4 separate regions of the Homo sapiens genome follow, and regions 1, 3 and 4 are each linked to region 2. The links are contacts of gene promoters, found by promoter capture Hi-C in blood cells and fetal thymus (Javierre and others, 2016). All regions are on one chromosome and are shown on one strand. Each heading gives the region's core, a stretch centred on a gene start or on the middle of the fragment in contact. The rest is flanking DNA. Distances are from core to core; before and after follow the strand shown. Region 1 overlaps FAF1 (Fas associated factor 1). Region 2 holds the start of LINC01562 (long intergenic non-protein coding RNA 1562). Region 3 overlaps FAF1 (Fas associated factor 1). Region 4 overlaps FAF1 (Fas associated factor 1).

Evidence for each region. Contacts are between HindIII fragments. The CHiCAGO score rates a contact against its expected background, and 5 or more counts as called.
Region 1: a fragment that was not itself captured here is called in contact with the fragment with the promoter of LINC01562 in region 2 in 5 of 17 cell types (naive CD8 T cells, naive CD4 T cells, total CD8 T cells and 2 more); the score reaches 8.8 in naive CD8 T cells.
Region 3: a contact is called between a fragment that was not itself captured here and the fragment with the promoter of LINC01562 in region 2, in 2 of 17 cell types (naive CD8 T cells and naive CD4 T cells). The highest score is 6.0, in naive CD8 T cells.
Region 4: a fragment that was not itself captured here is called in contact with the fragment with the promoter of LINC01562 in region 2 in 3 of 17 cell types (M1 macrophages, naive CD4 T cells and M2 macrophages); the score reaches 5.6 in M1 macrophages.

What each region holds. Positions count from the first base shown.
Region 1 is chr1:50,929,874-50,932,573 of GRCh38, forward strand. All of the region lies in intron 1 of FAF1 (Fas associated factor 1), which reads right to left. Among named protein-coding and RNA genes, the nearest start is that of FAF1, 29 kb to the right of the region's middle. The HindIII fragment of the contact is 7,482 bases long and covers 1-2,700 here.
Region 2 is chr1:51,233,693-51,236,392 of GRCh38, forward strand. LINC01562 (long intergenic non-protein coding RNA 1562) reads right to left here and starts at 1,404. Exons shown (of 2, transcript NR_147076.1): 1 at 1,273-1,404. It overlaps RNF11 (ring finger protein 11), which reads left to right and starts at 2,581. Exons shown (of 3, transcript NM_014372.5): 1 at 2,581-2,700. RefSeq lists a silencer at 2,366-2,700. The HindIII fragment of the contact is 11,293 bases long and covers 1-2,253 here.
Region 3 is chr1:50,947,889-50,950,588 of GRCh38, forward strand. The region is part of intron 1 of FAF1 (Fas associated factor 1); the gene reads right to left. Among named protein-coding and RNA genes, the nearest start is that of FAF1, 11 kb to the right of the region's middle. The HindIII fragment of the contact is 4,104 bases long and covers 1-2,700 here.
Region 4 is chr1:50,911,609-50,914,308 of GRCh38, forward strand. The region is part of intron 1 of FAF1 (Fas associated factor 1); the gene reads right to left. Among named protein-coding and RNA genes, the nearest start is that of FAF1, 47 kb to the right of the region's middle. The HindIII fragment of the contact is 831 bases long and covers 941-1,771 here.

The DNA of each region.
Region 1 (2,700 bases), core at 172-2,671, 300 kb before region 2:
AGAAGCTACAAATATAATGTAACGCTATACAAATTGTCAGTAATTTACAGTCTACAACTCTTAAAAAGCAAATAACATATATTAGGCAATTTATCGCATAAAGAATTAAGCACCAAGATGCAAATACCTTCTTTTTTCCAAGTAGACTCCAATGATCTATGCCACTCATTTTTTTCATTTAGCTTAACCAAAATGTTAGCAAATTAACATTTATTTAGGGTAATCTGGGGGTGTAGTTAACAAAGCATTTCAAGAGAGGGATATCTTTGAAATGTACTGATAAGTAGTAAAATCATAATGCCAAAGTGGGAAATTCTCAATTACAGCCTGTTAATGACATTTTAATACATCTTGGTTCTTTTGTTTTAAAGAAGAATGGATTCCAAAAGGGCATAATGAGCTAAGCAGGTGACCTCAGGAGAGTTCTTCCAAGTAGGTGTGTTTATACAGCAGCAAAGTTTAGGGTACAGTACTATTCAGGAAGGTATATTGGCAGGAAACAATGTGTAGTGGAAAAAAAGCTCTGACTCAAAGCACAACTAGCTTCAAATGCAGTTTTACCATTTAACTAGCCCTGTGACTTTAGTTATTAACCTCTCTGAGTCTCAGTGTTCTCACTCATACAATGGTAATAACAACAATCTTGCAAAGCTGCTGTAAGGATTAATAATAATGCAGGTGGCCAGGCACAGTGGCTCAAGCCTGTAATCCCAGCACTTTGGGAGGCCAAGGCGGGTGGATCACGAGGTCAGGAGATCGAGACCATCCTGGCTAACACAGTGAAACCCCGTCTCTACTAAAAATACAAAAAATTAGCCAGGCATGGTGGCGGGTGCCTGTAGTCCCAGCTACTCGGGAGGTGGAGCTTGCAATGAGCCGAGATCGTGCCACTGCACTCCAGCCTGGGAGACAGCAAGACTCCGTCTCAAAAAAGAAAAAAAAGTAGGTAAAGCACCAAATAGCCCAATTTTACAATAAGAAAACTAAAGAAGGCAATATAACTTAACTAGGGTTAGAAAGCAGAAAAACTGTGTGCCAGAACTTCTTTATTTTTAGTAATACTCCTTAACTTGAAGTCTTAGTCTAACATTATTAATTAATTACAGCAGATTTGTTATGATTAGTGTCTACATGATATATTGTTTGTCCATCCTTTTATTTACAACCTAGAGAAGCATCTTTATATTCCAGATGCTTCTCTTATACGAAATATAGATCAATATTTAATTTTCATCCAACCTGATGGTCTCTACCTTTTGATTACTATTTACCCTATTTACATTTAATGTAATTACTGATATGGCAGTAGTTTACTGTAAGTTTACTATCTTGGTTCTCAGTTTACTATCTTGGTTCTTTTATTTTGTTTTCAATCTGTTCCAATTGTTTTTCTTATTGTTATAGTTTCTTATCTGCATTGTTTATACTTTCTTATTGTTATACTTTCTTATCTGCATTCTTTAGGGTTGAGCATATGTATTAGTTTGTTTTCACGCTGCTGATAAAGACACACCCAAAACTGGAAACAAAAAGAGGTTTAATTGGACTTACAGTTCCACATAGCTGGGGAAGCCTCAGAATCATGACAGGAGGTGAAAGGCACTTCTTACATGGTGGCAGTGAGAGAAAAATGAGGAAGAAGCAAAAGCAGAAATCCCTGATAAACCTATCAGATCTCAAGAGACTTATTCACTATCACAAGAATAGCACGTGGGTGGGCGCAGTGACTCACACCTGTAATCCCAGCACTTTAGGAGGCTGAGGCGGGTGGATCACGAGATCAGCAGGTTGAGACCATCCTAGCTAACACAGTGAAACCCCATCTCTACTAAAAATACAACAACAACAAAAAAATTAGCCAGGCATAGAGGCAGGCGCCTGTAGTCCCAGCTACTCAGGAGGCTGAAGCAGAATGGCGTGAACCAGGGAGGCAGAGCTTGAAGTAAGCCGAGATCGTGCCACTGCACTCCAGCCTGGGTGACAGAGCAAGACTCTGTCTCAAAAATAAATAAATAAATAATAATAATAATAATAATAATAATAATAATAATAATAGCACATGAAAGACTGACTCCCATGATTCAATTACCTCCCCCCAGGTCCCTCCCACAACATGTGGCAATTCTGGGAATAATAATAATAATAATAGCACATGAAAGACTGACTCCCATGATTCAATTACCTCCCCCCGGGTCCCTCCCACAACATGTGGCAATTCTGGGAGACGAAAATTCAAGTTGAGATTTGGATGGGGACACAGCCAACCATATCATTCCACCCATGGCCCCTCCAAATCTCATGTCCTCACATGTCAAAACCAATCATGCCTTCCCAATAGTCCCCCAAAGCCGTAACTCATTTCAGCATTAACCCAAAAGTCCACAGTCCAAAGTCTCATCTGAGACAAGGCAAGTCCCTTCCACCTATGAGCCTCTAAAATCAAAAGCAAGCTAGTTATTTCCCAGATAAAATGAGGGTACAGGTATTGGGTAAACACAGCCATTCTACATGGGAGAAATTAGCCAAAACAAAGGGGTTACAGGGCCCATTCAAGTGTGAAATCCAGCGGGGCAGTTAAATTTTAAAGCGCCAAAATGATCTCCTTTGACTCCAGGTCTCACATTCAGGTCACACGGATGCAAAAGGTGGGTTCCCATGGTCTTGGGCAGCTCCGCGCCTGTGGCTTTGCAGGGTACAGCC
Region 2 (2,700 bases), core at 154-2,653:
AAAATAAAAATTAAAAAAAATTAAAACTAACTAAATAAATCTATGTCTGGCCAGGCATACAGTGGCTCACACCTGTAATTCCAGCACTTTGGGAGGCTGAGGCGGGAGGATCGCTTGCGCCCAGGAGTTTGAGACCAGCCTGGGCAACATGGCAAGACTTCGTCTCTACCAAAAACAAAAACAAATGCAAGGCATGGTGGTGTGCATCTGTAGTTCTAGTTACTGGAGAGGCCTGAAGCAGGAGGATCACCTGAGCCCAGGAGGTTGAAGCTGCAGTGAGCCTCGATCAAGCCAGCCTGGGTGACAGAGTGAGACCCTGTCTCCAAAACAAACAAACAATGTCTACAAATTCTAGCACTGTGTAAATATTATGTCAAATAATTGTATAAATTATTATTAATAAAAATTTCTTTAGGTTTGACAATAATTTGTGGGGTAAATTTTCTCACTTTGTAAAAATTCCAGGGTACCTCTGATTTCTGGTAAATTTAGCCAATCATAAATTAAATGAGTTCTTGGAAGCTCAACAATTCCAAAACCAAAATTGTGAGTCAGTTTGTTCTTTCTTTCCTTCTTTCCTTTCTTTTTCTTTTTCTTTCTTTCTTTCTTTCTTTCTTTTCTTTCTTTCTTTCTTTTCTTTCTCTTTTCTCTTTCTCTTTCTCTCCCTTCCTTCTTTCCTTCCTTCCTGCCTCCCTTCTCTCTCTCTCTCTTTCTCCTTCCTTTTTTTTTTGAGACTGAGTCTTACTCACTCCCTCGCCCACGCTAGAGTGCAGTGGCACAATCTGGGCTCACTGCGCTGCAACTTCCACCTCCCAGGTTCAAGCGGTTTTCCTGCCTCACCCTCCCGAGTAGCTGGGACTACAGGCGTGCACCAGCACACCTGGCTAGTTTTTGTATTTTTAGTAGAGATGGGGTTTCACCATGTTGGCCAGGCTACTCTCGAATCCCTGACCTCAAGTGATCCACCCGCCTTGACCTCCCAAATTGCTGGGATTACAGACGTAAGCCACCACGCCTGGCCCAAAATTATGAGTCTTTTCAAAAATTTTATATCAAAAAGGTGATATTTAATGTGGAATTTGAGTGCATTTAAATAAGATAGTGACTTCGTAGAATAGGGACTGCAGAGTAAGAGTGTTCAGACCCATTCGAGTTTAATATAGCCCTACCTCTAAGAATCCTTTCTGTTCCTCACTCAAATGAACTAATTGCTGTCTTTCAGTTCCTCTAAAAACCTTGGGGTCCGTGGCAGGGTGTGGGCTTAGGACTCACCTGATTACTTGTCTTCCCAGGTGGTCTCTGGGCTCTATCAGGAACAAGCCAGGTATGATCATCCTTTTCCCCAGTCCTTAGCGTGGGGTCTGGTATACACACGCACACACAACTTCAGTAAATGGTGAATGAAACGAAAGGCAGTCAAGATCCACCTGTTGAATGAACGTCTATCAGGAGCACTGTCATCCTTCTTGCTTCCTTCTTTTGCATATGTTGTTTGAGCTGCTCATTCAACCAAGGAGAGAGCATACTCTACCTTGGGCAGTGTGCCAGCCTTGCACAGAGGGACAGATGATTCAGCTTGATCAGGCTGTGACAGAGAAAAGCTCAGGGTCTGAGAGCACACAGGATGCGACTAACCCAGACTGGAGGGTCAGGAGAGTCTCCCCAGGGGAAATGAAGTTGCATCCAGAAGGATTCCTGAGAATAATGATTAGCCTGATGAGAAGCAGAAAGGTTGGGAGTGGAGGGAAGTGGGTTTCTGTGAGAGAAACAATATGGACAAAGGCCCCAGGCAGAGGCAATAGTATTCCAGATAACGAAAAGCATTTTAGAGAGTCTAGTTTAGAATTTGTGAAGGAGGTGACAATGCTGCTAATGAGATTGAAAGGGAGTCAGATTTGTAAACCATTTAAGGATTGTCTTAAGGACAGCCTTGAGGAGACACTGAAGGTTTTAACAGGAGAATGACATGATCCGATTTAAATTTTAAAAAGATAACTCTGTCAACTGTGCCAACAGTGAATTGGATGTGGGCAATGATGAACTCAGGAACAGCTGAGAGTCTATTGCAGAAGCCAAGGTGAGAGATGATGGTGGCTTGGACTTTGGTGCTGGGACTGGAAAGAAATGAACAATCTGATATACAACTGGAAGAATAATCTCTCTGGCTGTGATGTGGAAGGATAAGGACGTGATTGGACAGGCAGGGATGGTTCAGTAACGAGCTAGGACTTTATTGTGAAGGGATAAAGGGGAAGCTTTTAACATTTTAATCATGGGACTGATCCATTCCGATATGGGTTTATATAAATAGACCGCTTGGCGGAGGGTGGTGAGAAGACTGTCAGGCAGTGCACAGGTAAGAACTGAGCCCTAGACGGGGCAGGAGCAATGAATGTGGGGAGGCGCGGGAGACGGGAGATTGGTTTCGGAGCCAGGTACGGAGCCAAGCAGTCAGAGAGAAGCAAAAATTGACGCAGCACCGAGAACAGCTGCTAGTGGAGAGGGGGATGGGCGCCGCCGGAGCCGCCCTCGCCTCCTGGCGCCGGGGGCGGGACCAGAGCACGCACGGCGCGATGACGCAGTGCCCGAGCCGGCCTCGTTCTGGCTGCCGCCGTCTCGCTGAGGCGGAGTAGGATGAGGCCCGCGGCCGTGGCTCCGGCGTCGGCGGGGGCAGCAGCAGCTGAGGCAGCAGCTGAGGCA
Region 3 (2,700 bases), core at 144-2,643, 290 kb before region 2:
ACAGCCTAAACTAAGAATATTCCTTCAGTAAATAGTCACTGAGCACCTTTTACTAGATACTGTAGGAACAGATGGTTAAGATCCAGACAGTTGTTTCCCCAACAGAGCTGACAGTACGAGAAAGAAACATGTAAATTGATCACTGACAATCTAACATAAGACTCAAAAGAAGAGAGATGTACAAAATAGAAAAGAAACTATTAACCCTAACTGGGTACAAGGTATGAATGTTACAAGCAAAAGGTAGGAGGTGGTTTTTGAAAGAGAAATAGAAACTTTCCAAAGGAACATGAAAAGTAAGGATCCAAAAATGTGAAGTCATGAAACAGCCTAAGCATCAAGCATCAGTATACTGAAATATACTCTGTTAGTCCATTCTTGTGTTGCTATAAAAAAAATCTGAGGCTGGGTAATTTATACAGAAAAGAGGTTTGTTGGCTCATGGTTCTCAAGCTATACAGAAAGCATGGTGCCAGCATCCGCTAGCTTCTGGTGAGGGCCTCAAGGAGCTTACAATCATGGTGTAAGGCAAAGCGGGAGACAGCCTCTCACAGTCAACCCAGACTATCACATGGCAAGAGAGGGAGCCAGACAGAGAGAAAATGGTGAAGATCTCAGACTCTTATTTCTTTTTCTTTTCTTTTTCTTTTTTTTTTTTTTTTGAGGCAGAGTCTTGCTCTGTCGCCCAGGCTGGAGTGCAGTGACGCGATTTCAGCTCACTGCAACCTCTGCCTCCCAGATTCAAGCGATTCTCACGCCTCAGCCTCCCAAGTAGCTGGGACTACAGGTGCACGCCACCATACCCAGCTGTATTTTTAGTAGAGATGGGGTTTCACCATGTTGGCCAGGCTGGTCTTAAACTCCTGACCTCAAGTGATCCACCGGCCTTGGCCTCCCAAAGTGCTGAGATTACAGGTGTGAGACACCACACTTGGCCCTAGACTCTTAAACAATCAGATCTCACGTGAACTAACTGAGCAAGAATTCACTCATCACCAAGGGGATGGTGCTAAGCCATTTATGAGGGATCCACCCCCATGATCCAATATCTACCTCTAGGACCCACCTCCAACTTTGGAGGTCACATTTCAATATAAGATTTGGAAGGGACAAACATCCAAACCATGTCATAAAACGTTTTGCTAAGTCACAGAAATGGAACAGTACTTAAGATCACAAAATCAAAGAATCACAGGAATGGACGGAATTTCAAAAGTCATCTAGCTCAGCAATTCTCAAGTGTAGTCCTTGGATCAGAAGCATCAGCATAACCAGGAAACCTGGTAAAACATGCAAATTTGCAGACCCTACACCAGACCCACTGAGTCAGAAACTCTGAGGTGGGGGTCCAGCAACCTGTGGTTTAACAAGCCCTCCAAATTATTCTGATGCAAACTAAAGTTTGAGAACCATTAGTTTAAATCAGGATTCTCCAATACTGTCAACATTTTGAGCCAGAAAATTCTTTACTATCGGGCGATGCCTGTGCATTATAGAATGTGTAGCAGCATCGTTTGCTTCTGTGCACTAAATGCTAGTAGCAGCCCGAAGCTGTGACAACCAAAGTGTTTCCAGACATTGCCCAATGTCCCCTGGGGGACAGAAATCACCCTTGGTTGAAAACCACTGATCTAGATCAAGGATCAGCAAACTCTCCTAAAAGGAGCAGGGTAAATATTTTAGGCTTTGCAGGACATGCAGTCAACTACTCAACTCTGCTATTAAGGACAAAAATAACCAGAGACAACATGTAAACATACGTGCACGACTATATTCCAGTAAGACTTTATTTACAAAAAAAGGTGGTGGTTTGGCCCTCAGGCTGTAATATTCTGACCCCTAATCTAGGTCAGTTATCTGAATTACAATTGATTGTCCTCAGTCCCACGGCTGCCAAGTGATTCTCTGGATTCTATTTGGCCTGACCTAGTCCAGTCTTCTGCTTACAGGTACATATAGCTCTACACAGATTACCATTCTTTTTTTTTCGAGACAGGGTCTCTCTGTCACCCACCCAGGCTGGTGTGCAGCGGTGCAATCATATCCTCTTACCTCAGCCTCCTGAGTAGCTAGGACTACAAGCACATGCTATCACACCCAGCTAATTTAAAAAAAAAAAATTTATTTTTTTTTGTAGAGACACGATCTTGTTATGTTGCCCAAGCTGATCTCAAACTCCTGGCCTCAAGTGATCCCGTGCCTCTTCTTCTCAAAGTGCTGGGAATACAGGTGGGAGCCACCACACCTGTCCCAGATCACCATTTTATAGACTGAATAAATGAAGCCTACAAAAGGCAAATGACTTTCTCAAAGAACCACAGCTAAGAAAACCTAAAACAAAACAAAAAGACAACAGCTACAGCCAGTCTACCTAAGTACAATGTTCTAACAACTGCCCCTTATGGAGGTGTAACCACATATTGCCACCTAGCAGGCATTCAAACACTCCAGCCCTCTGAATTTACTAAAACCTAGAAAAGTACTGATTTCATGGGGGGAGCGGAGAAATAACTTTACCTTAAATGCCCAGACAGTAAATATTTTAGGCTTGTAAGGCCATTAAAATCTCTGTCTCAACTACTCATCTCTGTCACTCTAGCAAGAAAACCACCACAGATAAAGGTAAATGAACGGGTATGGCTGTGTTGCAATAAATCCTTATTTATAAAAACAGGCAGCTGGCCTGCAAGATATAGTTTG
Region 4 (2,700 bases), core at 106-2,605, 320 kb before region 2:
ATGGCTTGAACCCAGCAGGCAGAGGTTGCAGTGTGCCAAGATGTTGCCACTACACTCCAGCCTGGGCAACAGAGTGAGACTCTGTCTCCAAAAAAACTATTTCTCCCATGAATGGGTAAAATAGCCATAAAATTTGTACTTGGGCCAGGCATGGTGCCTCACGCCTGTAATCCCAGCACTTTGGGAGGCCAAGGTCGGTGGATCACTTGAGCTCAAGAGTTCAAGACCAGCCTGGGCAACATGACGAAACCCCATGTCTACAAAAAACATACAGAAAAATCAATCAGGCATGGTGGCATGCCCCTGTAGTCCCAGCTACTCAGGAGTCTGAGGTGGGAGAAACGCTTGAGCCTGGGAGGTCAAGGTTACAGTGAGCCGAGATCTCACCACTGCACTCTAGCCTAGGTGGCAGGGTAAGACACTATCTCAAAAAAAAAAAAAGGCAGAGTATTTAGAGGACCTGACGCACAACGAAGCACACTATTATTGTCAGTGCTTCAATGGTGACAACAACATCATTTCAAAAATACCACCAACTTCAAAATTATGGAGAGAGAAGGGCTTGAGCTGCCGCTAGACAAGTCACTATTACAGAAAGCACAGGAGACAGGAATGGTGTATTAAAGTGTTTACGGTGTTGTCCTCATCCTTCCTACATCAGATTTACCTGAGATGCTTGTTTAAAATACAGGTTTTTAGACTCTGTCTCAGACTACTGAATCAGACTTTCTAGAAGTAGGATTCTAGAATCTACATTTTACAGAGTATCTTGGGTGATTCTTACATTGATTAAAGTTTGAGAAGCACGAGTATAGTGGAAAAGGAGCCTTGCCCACCACCTGCCCCATCTAGGTGGTGGTATTCTTAGAAAACCACTTTAACTCAGTGCAGAAGTTTTAGTGTTGTTAAAAAGATGATTGAATTATACTAAACCTTACTAAGCTTAGTGTGTTGTTCTTTTTAACATCATTACTCTGGTTATCACAACCTACACAGATGCTTGAATTGGCAGTGTGTACTCAGAAAAATCATGTCTCTCTACTGTTTCCCAAAAGAAGTTGCCACATGACTCTACACTATGCAATCTACTCACATGTTTATAAATGCTTATAAATGCCAGTGCCACAGTGTAGGTGCATGCACATTTTGTCAAACAGCGGTTTAGTATTTGAAAATATCAATCAATTGCTTACCCATTCTCAGTTTCTTAAATAACTTTTCTTTAAAAGTTTTTGTTAAAACTTAAATTTAAAAAAAAGATGAAGTGTAGAAGCCACACCAAAACTGAATTCTGATAAACTATGTTTCATACAACATTCCCTTCATATAACAAGTTATGCATACATTCAACTCAACTAACAGAAATGAACCAGCCAGTTAGTGAATTGGGGCATTCAAGCCTTAAAAAGCCTTAAACATTTTGGTGCTGCATTTTTTAAAGCACCTCTAAAAACACTTATAAAAATGCTCTGTCACTTATTATAGCACTTACTACACAGTTTTATAATTGCCTGTTTGTGTGTCTCTCTTCCCCACTGTACTATACATGGCATGAGTGCAGGGATTATGACTATCATGGTCAGTGTTATAACCCAATACATAGCAAACTGCCTGGGACACAGTAGATTGTTCAATTAATACTTGTTAAAAGGATGAATGGATCGACTTTATACAAATACATTTCTTTTGCACTGCTCAGATATTTTAAACACATTAATTCATAATTGCCTCATCATCCGTACAAGAGAAGGTACACCAATAAGAAAATACAAGCTTAAAGAGATCAAGTGGCATGTGCAACTTACTCAGCTACTTGGTGGCAGAACCAGAATCTGAATCTAAAGCCACAACACCAAAGGGCTGAATCTATCCATTAGAGACCTTGCAGATTTCTTCAAGATGTTAACATCAAAAAAGGAAGAGAATCTGTATCACAGTTTTACAAAGACTTGAATTGTTTTCAAATTTCATCAAGAGTAAACTGTCAGCAACAGCAGATAATTATCAATCAAAATAATGACAATAATATATGTCTTAATGAGTTTCTAACAGAAGTAGTCTGTACACATTATATTGGGGGAAAAAATGAGAAGGAAAGAATTTGTCTATTACTTTCCAAAAGACTAAAGATATCGTAAAGATACTAAAAAATAGTACTGATGGAACTGATGGATGAATATCCAAACAGCAGAAATAGAGCAGGAAGAACTTCCTAGACTTACTATGGCCTGAGTAAACCATCCCCCAAACCAATGCAGGTAATTTGTTCTGTTTCCATGCTCACCAATCCATGTTCTGATGACCAAATTGGTTTTTCAGGTATCCTACCAGGAAGAAGATGCTCTGAATAATGATTACAAGTCCTGTGGTCAATGTAAAAATGTCTATCTCTTTGTAAATTAATATTCCACACAACAGATCAATCTCCTGTATATCTGTTACTCTGAATCTATTTACCAGAACATTAACACTGATGGATGACAGAAAAAAATCAAATATTTAAGTCTGCAAAGCAAAGGACGAGACCATGGATTCCTGATGACTCAGCCAAACTCTTATTTTTTCAGCCACATTTCACAGAAATATCAGAACCTGGTATTAACAGCTATGATTTAATTTTAGCAGTGTTTTAAAGTTAGATCTTCTCCATTCATCAAATACACCAAAGAGGAAATTTGGTTTATGATACCAAAGGCATGT